Linked DNA regions of Homo sapiens: region 2 is linked to region 1. Evidence: promoter capture Hi-C in human tissues and cell types (Jung and others, 2019). All regions are on one chromosome and are shown on one strand. The core of a region is centred on a gene start or on the middle of the fragment in contact, and the rest is flanking DNA. Distances in the headings are between cores, read along the strand shown. Region 1 holds the start of SIM1 (SIM bHLH transcription factor 1). Region 2 overlaps MCHR2-AS1 (MCHR2 antisense RNA 1).

Region 1 (7,624 bases), core at 2,263-4,762:
CTAGGACAGGATTACGTTAACTAATATACTTGGAACTAGAAAATGTTAATATTTCCTAAGACAATAATATGTCCCTAGATAACTTGTCCTTTTCAGTGACAGAGTGAACATCTGGATGTAACATACTGAGATGTTCGAGTGACCATCTTCAGATTTTGTATCTTGGTTATAAATATATCCTTCATCCTGACCTTGGACATTGAGCAAAATCCATGTGTGTGTGCTTTGTGCAACTGTGCATGTGGGATGTGCGAGCATGCAAAAGTGTATGTGTGCGTCCCTAGCAGTCTGCAAAAAAATAAAGAGAATGGTGGTGGACAGAAATCATTCTAGTTTTGATAAGATGCTCAAACAGCCTGGAGCAAAGAAGAGTCATTAGAGGAGTTTTTGGAAGGCAGGGTGGAGGTCTGTGCCAGAGCAAGGGTCGGGGGCCGAGGCATTGAACCCCGGTTCGGCGGTTTGCACCGGAATTCCAGTATGTGTTCACTCGTTCTTTTACAACCGAAAGTTCACCTTCTGTAGTCTTGATTTTGCCTTTTGCGGGGAGGGGTCAGAAGGCCCTTGAGGTGCCCGCTCCCCCTTCTTTCTGGGTGCGCGCGGCATGCTAGACATTGCTCACAAAGGCGCGTTGGTTCCAGAATCTACCCGGCCTGGCTCCCCTGGGGTAGAGTCACGGACGCCTGCATGTCCTGGCCTCCGGGGTCCGGGGCAGGCTCCATGAGGGCAGCATCCTGGGTTGCCCCAGAAGTGGCAGGGACTCTTGGGGGAACAGTGTCGCCATCACACTAGGCTGTTCGCCCTGCTTGGTGGGGGAAGGAGGGAGACACTTTTTTGCAGCCCCGCATGGGTTTTCTCCCACATCAGGATCGCATTCTGGGTGCCTGAGGGCCAGAGGCTAGGTTTTAAGGCCACCGGCTCAAGGAGGTGGCGGCCTAGACTCTATAAGGATCTCTATTTGGGGTTAGTGGGTCGCCCGTGACCGTCTCTTCCTTTCTGGGGCTTTTCTCCTTATATTGGCAAAACGATTAGTCTCTGAGCTTCAAGAAATTCATTTAAAATTTCCCGTGCTAGAGGCGAACGTAAATTCGCAGAACACGTGGGAGGCACCTGAGGTTCCGGTTCACGGTTCACGCCTCCGGCTACAGGGCGCGTGGGGGGCTGGCAGGCGGGGTCGTGGGGAGGGTGCAAAGCCAGGTCCCTGGGCCCGGGAGGGGGAGTGAAGGAGCAGCGTTCCGGCTCCAACCTAGGTTCAAAGATTAGAAAAACAGGTGTTACGTCGTCATGCTAATTCACTCTCTCGGTAAACGCGGCTCAGACAGTTGTGTGCTGAGGACTTAGCGAGAGGCCGTCACCTCGTGGTCGTGCATTCACTTTGTTTATTAAACGACATCTACTTGGCTCATTGACAACTGAGCTTCACTGGGACATTGGAACAGCCCGCCCAGCCCCCCAGGACGTCAGCCTTAAGCGTGAAGACTTCCTTACTCATTTTGCCCATCTTGCTTCTGAAGGCAAAATTACTGCATTTTTTCTTCTGGAAACCCAGCATTACCTGACTCCCTACCTCCACCCCCCGGAAGTCCCTGCTGTGGACACAGGTTTCAAACCCCAGAGAGGCACTTCCACACCGGCATGTTGTTTTAAGTAGAGATAGGGTTAGAGTAACCGCGGTCTTGACTGAAATCCTCTCTAGAACACAGTCGAATGGAAAACCTCCTCTTAACCCTAAGTGTCATTGCTTCGCCTGGCAGCTATATGTGACCTGGTTGGAGGGGAGAGGAGGGTCAAGAAAGGTTATTTCCCCTCTCCACACGCACCCTCCACCCCCGACTTTACATGTAGTAGCCAACTTGACCTTATCTGATCTTTCTGGAATCTTGTGTATAAGTGAGCCACAGTGCATCTCTCGCTATCTTCTAGCTATGTCTTGTTAAAAGCGCATCATTGGGTGGTTGGAAGGCGCCCAGAACCAGATCTCTAAGTGGCTACAGCCACTGGGGAAATGACTCCTCCTAGATTAGAGTCCATTAGCTGGATTCCAGTTTTGAAAGACCTACAAAATCTCCGTGCTTCTTTCTTTTTCTTTCTATCCAAAACTTTCACCTCCTCCAGCCAGGTGTTGCCCAGATATGTAAATAACACCAGAAAGCTGCTGTTGTCCTTCTACGACTATCTTACTGCCATCGGGCGGCAAGGAGGTGGCAGATGTCTGTATTTTTGAACAAACACTCTTAAAGTTGTTCTGAATATCAGCAGAATGGCACACACCCCTCTTCAAAGTATTTATTTTCTCAGTGGCAATTAGCGCCACAAACGAGAGGATGAGTGCCCCGTCACTGGTGTTCTCACTGATTTTTATGGTAGATGAAACAACTCCCTCCAAACGCACCTCTAGGAGCCGAATCTGGTCACCGGCGTACCAAAACCAAGCCGGGAGTCGAGTCTGTAGGGGGTGATTCGTGAGGACAACAATTGTTTTTGGGACAATTTGACTTTTTCTTGATGCTACCTGTTGTGTTTTCTCAGATGAGAGAAAGAGAAGGCGGTTCAAATTAGAGGGTCTCTAAAAGATAATTAGTCAGCAAGAGTCCTGGTGAGCGTTTGTTTAAACAGCTCCTATTAGGGAACCGCGAGCATCGTTAAGTTCATTCATGTAGACTGTATCCTTTCTGTAAGGAATAATCATGTTGGACTTTTGTTTCCTGAAACAAAACCCGACAAAGAGTTGGCTAATGTTTAAGATAAAGGACTGTTGGGAGCTATGTATCTCTATATCAATCATTCTATTTTGCCCTGAAATGTAAGCTTTTCCCCTAGTGTCCCCCTAGCTGCTCCCCATAGGAAAACTCCCCGGCCGAGTTTCCACGGTGAAAAAAATCAGCCCCAAACCCAAGCCATTTCGAAAAAGACGCACTTCTTTGGGATTAATTTAAAGACAGTTATTGTATTTATTTCCTCTGGCAATGAATTCCGTGTCGCCATGGTTTCAGAGAAACGAGAAAGAGAAAATAACTCCCCAAACCGGCCTCGCGCACGCCGTCGGCCAGCGACTGCCAGCGGGATGGGCCTTTGGGCGAACCCTGCCTCCTCCGCCGGTAGACCTAACCCGCAGGCCCGACCTCCGCTGCCTCCGGACGTTCCCGGTTCTGCTGGGCCGCCGCGCTGGACTGAGCGCTCAACCACCCGACCCCAGGGAGCTCGAGGAGCGCGGGTCGCGCACGACGTCGGGAAGGCCCAGGAGGCCGCGAGCAGCGGCGGCAACCGGACAGCGCCGACCCGGCACCCTGAGCTCATTAGGAGTCCAGCGGTCCCGCGGGTAGTAAGATTCAGAGCCCGGAGCCTGGGCGCGCGGAGGGCGGCTCGGGGCCGACTCGTGTCACTCAGCCCTATTGGCCAATGAGCGCCTCGCCCCTGGCCGCGCCAGGCCAATGGGAGGCGAGGGGGCTTGTGAGTGGCATTGAGGGAGGGCGGGAGAGAGGCGGCCCCGGAGTGAAGTTGAAGCTAAACCCTTAAGCTATAAAGAAGTTACGGGGGGCAGTTTTCGGCTTCCAATTAGGAATAATAGTGAACTGGCTTCGTAGCAACTACGGAGGACCAGGATTCTAAAATCACCTCACTCGTCCCAAAGCTTGCATCCTCCTCTTTCTGCCACGCACCCCTCCTCCAATTCATGATCCAGAAAAGGGAGCCGGGAATGCTCTGCTCCTCTCTGCCGGTGGGAAGCGGAGAGGCCGGCGGTGTCGCTGGGTTGGACGGTAGGCATGAGAACAGTTAAGAGATGGGCGCCCCCGAAACCTCTGCCGCTTGTGGGGACTGAAGGTAGGTGAAGCAGAAGACGCCCCGCGCCCGCCCAGCAGCCCCGCAGCTCCGCGGTGGTGTGGGAGAGGCCGCGGCGCCTCCCACCCCCGGGGGAGCCTGCGAGGGGCTGTCGCGAGCGCGCCACCTGTTAACCTGGCGCTGCTGGGCCCCGCTTGTTGCAGCCCCTGCTGGGCAGCCAGAGCGCTGGGTCGCCTTGGGAGTCCCGAGAGACTTGGTGTGTAAGTGTCACTTTTTGAGGAATCCCTCAGACTTGAGACCCAAGTTAAAGAGGTAGCCAAGGTCCAGATCTGCCAAGGTAGGGAGCTGAAAGGCCCCTGCCTCGCCTTGGAGGAATTCTGATTTGCGGAAACCTGCTTTCCTGGGACGTGCGCCCGGCCTGGGCGCGGACTCGGGGATCCGCGGCGGAAGATCCCTTGCGGGTCTTCAGAAATATGTATTTTGTTGTTTGGGCAACTTCCCAGGGGTCTGGAGGATGCGGCTGGCATGGGTGAGGGAATGCCAGCATTATTTGCAGGGGGCTGTCTCGCTGCCGATTTACCCGTTTCTTTAAAAACAAACCCAAAACGCCTGGCTAGGCGCACTGAGGCCCTTTCCGGCCGTGTTTTTGGAATTGGGACGAGTGTGTGAGTACTTGTGGAGCCGCTGATCTCTTATGCTCTGATGCTGTTGTCTTCACAGGGCCTTGAAAGAGTTGTCTGGGGTTCCTGCTCTTCCCAAAGGGGCTCGGAGATACCTTAAATGCCGCGAGACTGAAGAGCAAACGTCAGGGATTATTATGTCGATTTTCCGAGGACCAGGGTTCGCAGCTGGCAGTAGAAGAAAAGGCTGGCTCCTCAGGGGTCCCACTGGCATTTGATACCCTGAACGACCCTCAGGATTGCCCAAATTCGGTGGATCGCCCAAATTCGGTGGATCAGCAACTTTCCTATACTGCATCCCGAATTTTCAAAGAACATATTTTCCGTTCACCCCCGCTGGTCTTTTACTGCCATCAATACACTGTTCTTGGTGCAAATACTTCAGCCTCTTTATTCAAAGTATGTTTTATGTTTTTGCCAAATATGATCTCTAATTGAAAGTTTATTTTTGGTTTTGGATGAATCTGCGGAGCTTAAGTTGTGAGAAGAAAGGGGGAACAAGACACAATGAAAGAAAAGTCCAAAAATGCTGCGCGGACTAGGAGGGAGAAGGAAAACAGTGAATTTTATGAACTGGCTAAATTACTGCCTTTGCCCTCGGCTATCACCTCGCAGCTGGACAAAGCATCCATAATCAGACTCACGACCAGCTATCTCAAAATGAGAGTGGTGTTCCCAGAAGGTAAGTGACTTTGCCCAGATGGAATTTCAAAGGCAGAAGGGGCCGGGGATTTGCCAGGCAATGAGCCGACATCAGTGACCAGAGAAATGCATACATATTTACATATATATTTTGCAAAGGGAAGTTTAGCTCGGCTGCTTCACTAAGGTCCTCACTGAACTCAGAATTTCTGTCGCTTTTTTGAGGCTCCCTCTACCTCCCCATCAATACTTTCTCTTCAGTCCATCAGATATGTTTGGTTGGGAAGCAGCCCAACAGTCCTTTTGTCAACACTTCAGATACTAGGCTCAATTGAAAGTACTACTAATCCAAACATGACTTTCTTTTTTACTCCTCTTGTTAGAATTTTGTCCAGTAAAAACCAGGAGCACCGCCTAATTCTGTATTTTTTTTTTGCCAGGTGTGGATAGACCCATGTACCTGGAGCTAGATAGGCCAGATAATAATTTCTCTATATATCTAAAGATTTGCAAATGAGTAACATGCATATTTGTGAACAAGTATGCCTGAATTTACTCAAGTTCTTAAATAAATTCTAAGCAAATTTATTCCGAGTTTTCAAGACATTCGCAGATTCTGAAACTAACTCTGGAGCTTGATGATTTGCAACTGTGGGCTTGATGTTATCTGTAAGATAATAGGCTAGTCCTAAAATACATAAGATTGAATTAAGATGGCTAGCCCGCTTAGAAAATATCTTCTGGGTGGCAGGTTGGCAAATAGATCCTGAGAAAATTGTCTTATAAGGCCTAGAAGTTAGAATAGCTGAGCTGTTGACATGATTTAAAACTCATATTTAGATTATCAAGATTCACTGTGTGAGGACAGAGCAGCTTTCATAGAACACTGTCCTATATACAACCATTTATACTTACTAGAAAAGGACACTTTTCTATTTGTCCATCTTTTCCTTTACTTGGATTCAAATAATGCAAACAGATTTTTAAAAATATTTTAGATATGTCTTTGCTGGGGGAAGGGGATTCAGAAATGTAAAAGAGGGATTACTGAACAAGCAAACAAACAAAAATCCAAGGGAAAGAATTGTGTTTATTTACAAATGAGAACTTCTGATTTGACCCCTGGAGGTTTTTGTTGTTGTTGATTTTAGATGTTTGGGGTTTGTGGTTTTCCGTTAAATGAATGGATGAGCAGGAAACAGTCATTATTGGGTTTGCAGTTTCACTTTGCTTGATCATGACATAAAAGTTATTATCTAAGTCAAAAAGCCTGCAAAACATGCTCCAAATTAGTGGAGCATGAAAAACATGCTCCAAGCTAAAGGAAAACTTTCAAATTATAGTTCAGTTCTACCTTCAAACTACAAGTGATGCTTTAGTCGTTCCCTCCTAAAGCAGTTCCTTGAACAGTTCTTCTCTGACCCTGGAAACTGTGGGGAAAAAAGAAATGAAAGCCTAAAGTACCTGAAAATTAAAAAAAAAAAAAAAAAAAGAAAGAAAGAAAGAAAAAAAGAAGAAAAAGAAGGGGAACTTATATACTAAAAACCACATTTCCCGTTCAAACTGTGCTATGAATTGTTGATGGGATAATTACCATTATACCACACTGCCTTCTATTTAAAAAAGAGATCTCGTTGTCTTTTATACTGTCAGCGCCTACTTTATAAAAATAAAGCTATTGCGAACTCCGCTGGCCGCACTGTTCCTAACAGGATTATTAGCAGTGATTTGTCAGCCCCTGCGGTCTCAGTGGGCTCCCTTTCTGCGTGATTTCCAGCCGGTCTCGTCAATTATTGGTGCCGATGTCGCTCGCTGTTTGATCAGAAGCAGCATATGGTGTTGCTTGTGGGGCTGCGAGTAATCGCGGGAGGAGAAGAATAGCAGGGCGGCGTTCTGGGGCGGGCACCGAGCCGGCCGGGAGAGCCCGGGGAGTCGGCCGGCCAGGGAAGCTAGTCGGCTTGGTGTAGACCCGGGGGCAGGCGCAGCTGGGAGGAAATCGGGCTGTTTTCTGCTGTTGTTTTGTTTTTGTTTTTAAAAGAGCAAGCCTTTTTGCATAATTAAGTGCTAACTCTACACATTATAAGTCTCGTTATAAATAAATAGGAACAAAATAAACTCTTACAGCCAACCTCTCGTTATTTTTAAAGAGAGCGCCAATGAAGGCTCCCGCTGGAGTCCTCTTGGTGGCCAGAACGGTCCCCTCTGGCTACTTTAACAGTGACTGTGCTTTCTGCAGCCCCCTCACCTTCCCCCGAGCCCCGGACCCCTCCTTTCTCTCCCTTCTGTGGGTGAGTGTGAGTTTATGGGGAGGAGGGGATGGACGATGTGTGAACTCTGGGCACATCATTTGTTTCTCTAGCTACTGTTGAGCTCATAACTCACCCTCAGCCTCCACCCAGTGAGCTAGACAGGGTCATCAGAACAGCTGGCTCCTAGGGATGAGTTTTTAATTTTTGACGGTGGACAAGCTTCAAAAACCCAAAATCAAACACAGCTCTTTAAAATATTAAAGAACAACAACAACA
Region 2 (7,624 bases), core at 2,579-5,078, 400 kb after region 1:
AAATTAACAAATCTCCAACAATAAACCCCAAAGAAAGGGAGATCTATGACATGACAGAAATAAAATTCAGAATAATCTTCTTTTAAAAAGTTCAATGAACTTCAAGAATATTCAAATAAAAAATTAAATACAACTTGGATAAGAATACATGCATAACATGAGAAGTTTGACAAACAAAAAAAAATTAAAGATAAACAGGAATTTTATAGTTAAAGAATACAATGATTAACCTAAAAAGTATAATAGAAAGCTTCAACAGCCAGCTCAATCAAGCTGAAGAAAGAATCAGTGAATTCAAAGGTAGAACATGTAAAATTACCCAAGAGAGGAGGGAAAAAAAGAAACACAAAGAGGAAATGAAGAAAACCTATGGGAATTATGAAATACTATCAAGAGACCTAATCCACACAAAATTGGCATTCCAGAAGGAAAGGAAAGAGAATGACGGCCAGAAAGCATATTTAAAGAAATAATAAAATAAAGCATCCCTAATTGGAAGAAAGAAGATAAAATTCAAGTACACGAAGGTAAGAAGTCACCTGTGAAATTCAACCCAAAGAGTTCACCAAGATATATAATAATCACACTACCAAAAATCAAAGACAAAGAAATCCTGAAAGCAGCAAGAATTAAGAAATACATCACATACAAAGGAGTCCCAATACATCTATCAGTGGATGTCTCAGTAGAAACTAGGAGAGAGTGTGATAATACATTCAAAGTGTTGAAGGGGGAAAAAAAAAACCTGCGAACCAAGAATACTTTACCCAGCCAACTTATATTTGAGAAATAAAAACATTTCCAGACAAACAAAAGCTAAGGGAGATTATCACCATAAGGCCTGCCTTACAGGAATTGTGAGAGAGTTATTTAACCCTTTTCCCATTTGCCCTAAGAACACTGTCCAGTGGTGGTTATGGCTGTAGCATTTACCCTGAGATAACTTTGCCACAAAATATCTCACTTTTATTATTATTTTCACATTGCTCTAGTCTATCGACTTTGGGAAAAAAAAGACATCATTCTGTTTATAGAATTCTGTTTTTAGTAGTGATATTTCCATTTACAAAATGTAATAATTCTAGATAGTTGAAAATGTCAAATCCTGGAAAATGTAGCATTCCTACAAGTGATGTTAACATCACTCTCAAACAGCTGTTGGCTGAAGATTCATTCGATAAGTCTGATTTTTCCATAATAGTTGATTCTGATTATTTAGATGATTCTGATATTAGTTCTGTTTAGAAATAATTCCAAGAACAGTTTTTATATTTTATTTTTACATTGAAAATCAGTCAGATTTGCTTCAGCCTCAAAGAATGTGTTTATGTAAAATTAAATGAGTGCTTGCAATGAACTGCACTTTTTTTCTAAATGGGAAAAGGCTTAAACTGAAATGAAAGGCTGCTAATTAATAGAATAAACTTACAAAAGCACGGAACCCAATGGTATAAGTGATACAGAGCAATATTCAGAATGCCCTTAAAGTGTAATTGTGGTACGTAAAGTAACTTTATCTCCATTTCAAGGGTGAAAATACATTAATGAAAACTATAGCTGAAATAAATTTTCAACAGATATGTATTATAAAATGATGTAAATTCAACCATCAAAAATGTAAAATTTGAAAAGAGTGTAAAAGTGTAGCATTGTATATAATTAAACTTAAGCTGTTATCAGATTGAAATAGACTAAATGTACAATGTTCAATGTAAGCCTCATGGTAACCATAAAGCAAAATTCCATAGATACACACAACAAAAATGTAAAATATTCAAATCATACCACTACAGAAAACCATCAAACCACAAAACGAGACAGAAAGAAAGGAAGAAAGAAAGAAGGTATTTACAAAACAACCAGAATACAATTTTTTAAATGGCAGTAGTGAGTTCTTTGCTATCAATAATTACCTTAAATAAAAAAGAATTAAATTCTGCAGTCAAAAGACATAATGTGAATGAATGGATAAAATGTAAAAAAGGATCCAATTACGTTACCTATAAGGAATTCACTTCACTTTTAAGGACACACATAGACAAAGTGAAGGGATGAAAAAAGATATTCCATGCAAATGGAAATTAAAAGAGCAGAAGTCGTGACACTTATATCAGACAAAATAGACTTAAGTCAAAAATTGAAAAAAAAGACAAAGAAGGTCATTATATAATAATAAAGGAGTCAACATCAAAAGGACATAACAATTGTAAACATACATGTGCCCAACAGTGGAGCACCTGATATGTAAGACAAACATTAAAGGATCTGAAGGGAGAGATAGATTCCAGTACAATAAAAGCAGGGGACTTTAATACACCACTTTCAATATTGAATAGATCATTAAGAAAGAAAACTAATGATGAAACCCTGGACTTGGACAACACTTTAGATTAAATGAACCTAACAGACACTCATGGAACATTCCATCCAACAACATAATACACATTCTTCTCAAGAGCACACAAATCTTTCTCCAGGAGAATTTATAAGTTAGGCTACAATACAAGTCTTATCAAATTTAAGAATATTAAAATCATATCAAATATCTTTTTCAACCACAATAATATAAAACTATCTTTTATATTAGGATTTTCAGAAGATTAGCAAATACATGAAAATTAAGTAACATGCTCTTGAACAACAAATGGGTCAATGAAGAAATTAAAAGGGAAATTTAAAAATATGTCAAGATAAACAAGAAATGAAGACACAACATCCCAAAACTTACAAGATGCAACAAAAGTGGTTCTAAGAGGAAAGTTAATAGTAATAAATGTCTATGTCAAAAAAGAAGAAAGGTCTCAAATAAACAACTTAACATTATGCCTCAAGGAAACAGAAAAAAGAACTACCTACACCCAATGTTAGCAAAAGAAAGGAGAAAATAAGGATCAGAAAAATTATACAAAAGATCAATCAAATTGAGAGTTCGTTTGTGAAAAGATAAACAAAATGGACACCTTTTAGCTAGACTAACAAAAGAAAAAAAAGACTCAAAGTCAGAAATGTAAGTGGAGACATAACTGACACTACAGAAATATGAAGAATTATAAGAGATTTTTATGGACAATTATATGCCCCCAAATTTCATAACCTAGGAGAACTGGATAAATACCTGGAAACATACAACCTGTCTAGACTAAATAATTAAGAAATAGAAAATCTGAACAGAGCAATAACAAGTGAATAAGTAAAAAAAAAAAAAAAAAAAAAAACCGTTTCCTGTTAAAGAAAAGCACAGGACCTGATGGATTAACTGCTGAATTCTATCAAACATTTAAAGAACTACTACCAATCCTCCACAATCTTTTCCACAAAAACAGAAGATGGTGGAATACCTCCACACTTTTTCATGAAGCCAGCGTGACTCTGATACAAAAGCCAGATAAAAACATCACAAGAAAAGAAAGCTACAAGCCAATATCCTTGATAAACATACATGCAAAAATACTCAACAGGATACTAGCAAACTGAATTCAACAACACTTTAAAAGGGTCGTTCACCATAATCCGGGGGATTTATCCCTTGAAGGCAAAGATGGTTCAATGTTTACAAATCAATAAATGTGATACACCACATTAAAAGAATGAAGTACAAAAATAATATAATCATCTCATTAGATGCAGAAAAAGCATTTGAGAAAATTCAACATTCTTTCATGAAAAAAGTACTCAGCAAATTCGGTATATAAAGGATGTACTTCAGCCCAAAAGGTTAAAAACATGCAAACACATTTTTAAGTACAAAATTCCAGAACGAAAATAGTCTTGAGAGTGTATTTATTTCCTCACAATTTGATGTTGATTTTAAATAATAGCATTTATAGTTTCCTATTCTTGAGTTGTTGAATAGAAGCTTACCTGGGGTAATCAAAAGTGGTGAGACAGAAGGAAGCCTCTGGCCTTCATTTCTATTTAAAAATTAAGCACAAAGGCCACTTTGCAAAGGGTGGCTTTCTATCAGAATAAGCCACTTTATACTCCATCATTTGTGCATTGTACTGTGTAGTATGATGTTGAGCTTATCATTTCAACACTTGTGGTGTGGAAGGAGCTGATAAGAATTTTCCCTTTCATTAATCTTATGTTAAAATGCCTGATTCAGGCAGGGTACAGTGGCTCATGTCTGTAATCCCAGCACTTGGGGAGGCCAAAGTGAGCAGATTACTTGAGCTTGGGAGTTCGAGATCACCCTGGGCAATAGGGAGAAACCTGATCTCTATTAAAAAAATACAAAAATTAGCTGGGCATGGTGGTGCATATGGGTAGTCCCAGCTGCTTGGGAGGCTGAGGTAGGAGTATTACTTGAGCCCAGAAGGTCAAGGCTGCAGTGAGCAGAGATCATGCCACTGGACTTCAGCCTGGGTGACAGAGAAAGACCATGTCTTTAAAAAAGCCTAATTCAAATAATAAACATTCAGCATCTACATTTCACAGTTTCTTAATGAACAAGGAACATTAATAGAAGAATTGTTGGATGTGAACATACTAACAAATAACCTTTAAATATTGTGATCACAAACACCAATAACTATTAAGTATTGATTAAAATGCAATCAAAGAGTCATAAACCTAAAAGTTTACCAGAAGACTTTGATACCCTGAAGTATCCGGAGCTCTCTGCCCTCTTTAACATTTCGTTTTGTTATTTCCATCAAAATCTTTCCTATATAAATCCCATTTCATTCTCTTTGATTTCTTGTAAATAAGCAGAAAAACTCAGTTTGCTTCTGATAAAAATCTCCTTATATATTTCACAAAGGCATAAAAAAATCATCATTTAATTGATCTTTTTTTTTTCTTCATGACACCTAAGTTTCACTAGAGTATGGCTGGTGTAATCTTATCATGATCTACAGTTCATTTGAGTAATAACCCCAAATATGTGTTTTCACTTTTGTAAGTGATTTATAGCTTGCATTGAAGGCCCAGTGGTGTTGAATTTTTCCATCGTTATGCCTCTTATAGAGATTAAGGGTCCTATTTCTTTCAATTCTTTTTGAGGAAGGGAAAAAAGAAAGAAGGAATGAACATATTGAGTGCTTGTATGTTAGGCATTGTGCTGGATGTTTTCACAATTCCTCCTGCTTAATTGTCCCAACAAATGACTGAAATGGTTATTATTTTCTTCATTTTGTGAGAAAACAAAGAATTAGAGTTATGTAAGTTGTTGAATATTGCACAGTTATTAAAAAGCAGGGGCTGAATTTCAGGCCTGTAATATCATGAGTTCATAACACGAGTGAAATCCAACTCTTGGAATATGAAATTCCAGATGTAGCTAATACTCATTGCAAAATTGATACCTCCAAAACACCTGTTCAATCCCCCTTGTACTTTCTGGCATTGCACACCTTCTACATTAGTACATATACTTAAAGAAAAACAACATTGACTTACAATATCAAAACAACTTTATGCAAATATTCTGCTATACACAAGATCCACAATTAAGAAGTTTTTTAAGAAAAAGAATAGTTTTGTTGCATGAGATTTCACTGGTAGAGCTAATATTCAGTGAAGTGTGAACAATAGAAAGCACAGACAAGACTTTCAGGAAGAGGTCACTCTTCATAGAGTGTTTAATAGGTGCAAGTGTTTGATTCTAACCTACACATTCTATAGCTTTAACGGGAATTTTTGCATAAATAACTCTGATCATAACATTGTGGGGGTGCATAAAATAGTAAACAGGTCCTCCAACCTGGGTTGTGGGTAACTAAAAGATCTTCCAGGGTGGAAGTGGGAAAGGTGGGGGTTGGAAGTATACATTTAGGATAATAGAGAATGGGAAAGATGAGGTTGGCAAGGGGCACGGCATGACAAATGGAAATATCATGACCATAGGTAAGGATGACTAACTCATGTTAAAGATGCCCTCTGTTATTTGAGGAAAAAGGCAAAAATTAAATGAAGGGCCTAATAATTCATTTTTCGAAGCCAGAATATAGTGATATAATACCATAACATTTACTAAGAGAAAGCAACATGAAGATTCTGCTTTAGAGACCTTGATTTTTAAAAAGAATGGTGAGATAAAGAGAGAGCACATTTGGGTTGAAACCTTTTAACATAAGCTAGTCTGGCTCTGGAAAAAAAATAATTTCTATCCATTTTCTATTCAGTTCCTGAAAAGAGGATGCAATTTCACAAGTATTATATGAATTCTTAATAGTTGCATGTCTAAATAATTTTGTATATTTAAGAGGTAATTACAAGTGTTGCTGGAAGAGCTTTTTGCTTTGATTTTTGAAATATGTATGGTTATTGTGAGAAATTTAAGCAATATGAAATAATGTAGAAAGTGAAATTAACCTCTGTACCACTTCCCAGGCCTCTAATGCATAGCTTCAAGAAGTTAACACTGCTAACTCTTTGACAAACATCTGTTATGCAACTAGCTTTATTTTCTACTTAATATTTTTCTTTCCATGTGAGTACAGACAAGTTCTCATTCTTCTTAACAGCTATGTGATACTCCATAACATGTACCATAAGTGGATTGTAATATTTACATACCAATTATGTATCAAATATTTTTAACCTCTTAATGAGCCTTTAGATTGTCTCCAATCTAAAGATTGTTCGCTATGGCAAACAATCTTGTATACGCGTGGAATTTTGACATGTCATTTAAAAAAATTCTAAGGAGTAATTTTGGCAAGTTTTCTTTGGTGCTATTATGAAAGCTAAATTCCTTTGTTTGGGATTCCATTAATAAACTTAATGGCTGTAGGACAGTCATTTAGGAAATGTGATTAAGTAGCAAGCAAAGGAGGCTTTCAGCATGAGTGCATGTGAATACGTAATAAATTTCCACATGAGAAATTTTAGAGAATGAACCAGGTAGCTCTGTGACTATGGATTAAAAACCACATTTGGGAATTGTCTGTCAAACACATCAAAGCATTCTGCATTAGTTACTTACTGGGGTTAGCAGAAGAAATGATTGCTGCTGCTTTCTTTTATGTCTTGGATGAAAGGGGAGCATAGAGGTAGATTTTGGTGCCTCTCTCCTTATGCCATCGAATTTATTTTGTTTGGAATTATGTAGTGCTTGAAAAAGCACATTATTCCATTGAATAATGTTTTAGACTTACACACTGATAACTCAGTATTTTAGTAAAATAAACTTAAAATCTATTTTTAAATGAAAAGGCATAAACGTATTTGTTTATGTACATAGATATCTGTAAAAGTGGCTTTTAAGAATCCTAGTACACTACAAGAAAACATTGAGGTCAATCTCCAGGACATCGGTCTGGACAAAAATTTCCTGAGGAATACTCCACAAGCACAGTCAACCAAAGCAAAAATGGACACATGGAATCACATTGAGTTAAAAAGCTTCTGCACAGCAAAGGACACAATCAACAAAGTGAAGAGACAACGCACAGAATGGGAGAAAATATTTGCAAACTACCCTTCTGACAAGAGATTAATAGCCAGAATATATAAGGAGCTCAAACAACCCTATTGGAAAAAATCTAATAACCTGATTAAAAAATGGGCTAAAGATTTGAATAGACATACAAATGGCAAACAGGCATATGAAAAGGTGCTCAATGCCATTGATCATTAGAGAAATGTTAAGTCAAAACTACAATGAGATATCGTCTTACCC

The links. The method cuts DNA at HindIII sites, captures the fragments that hold promoters and counts their contacts. A contact is called where the count stands out against the background at its distance.
Region 2: a fragment that was not itself captured here is called in contact with the fragment with the promoter of SIM1 in region 1 in 1 of the 25 tissues and cell types used here (lymphoblastoid cells).

The regions. Positions count from the first base shown.
Region 1 is chr6:100,460,809-100,468,432 of GRCh38, reverse strand. It overlaps SIM1 (SIM bHLH transcription factor 1), which reads left to right and starts at 3,512. Exons shown (of 12, transcript NM_005068.3): 1 at 3,512-3,819; 2 at 4,498-5,139. The coding sequence starts at 4,965. RefSeq lists an enhancer at 189-780. The HindIII fragment of the contact is 4,452 bases long and covers 1,147-5,598 here.
Region 2 is chr6:100,061,973-100,069,596 of GRCh38, reverse strand. The region is part of intron 2 of MCHR2-AS1 (MCHR2 antisense RNA 1); the gene reads right to left. Among named protein-coding and RNA genes, the nearest start is that of MCHR2, 72 kb to the right of the region's middle. The HindIII fragment of the contact is 3,549 bases long and covers 2,054-5,602 here.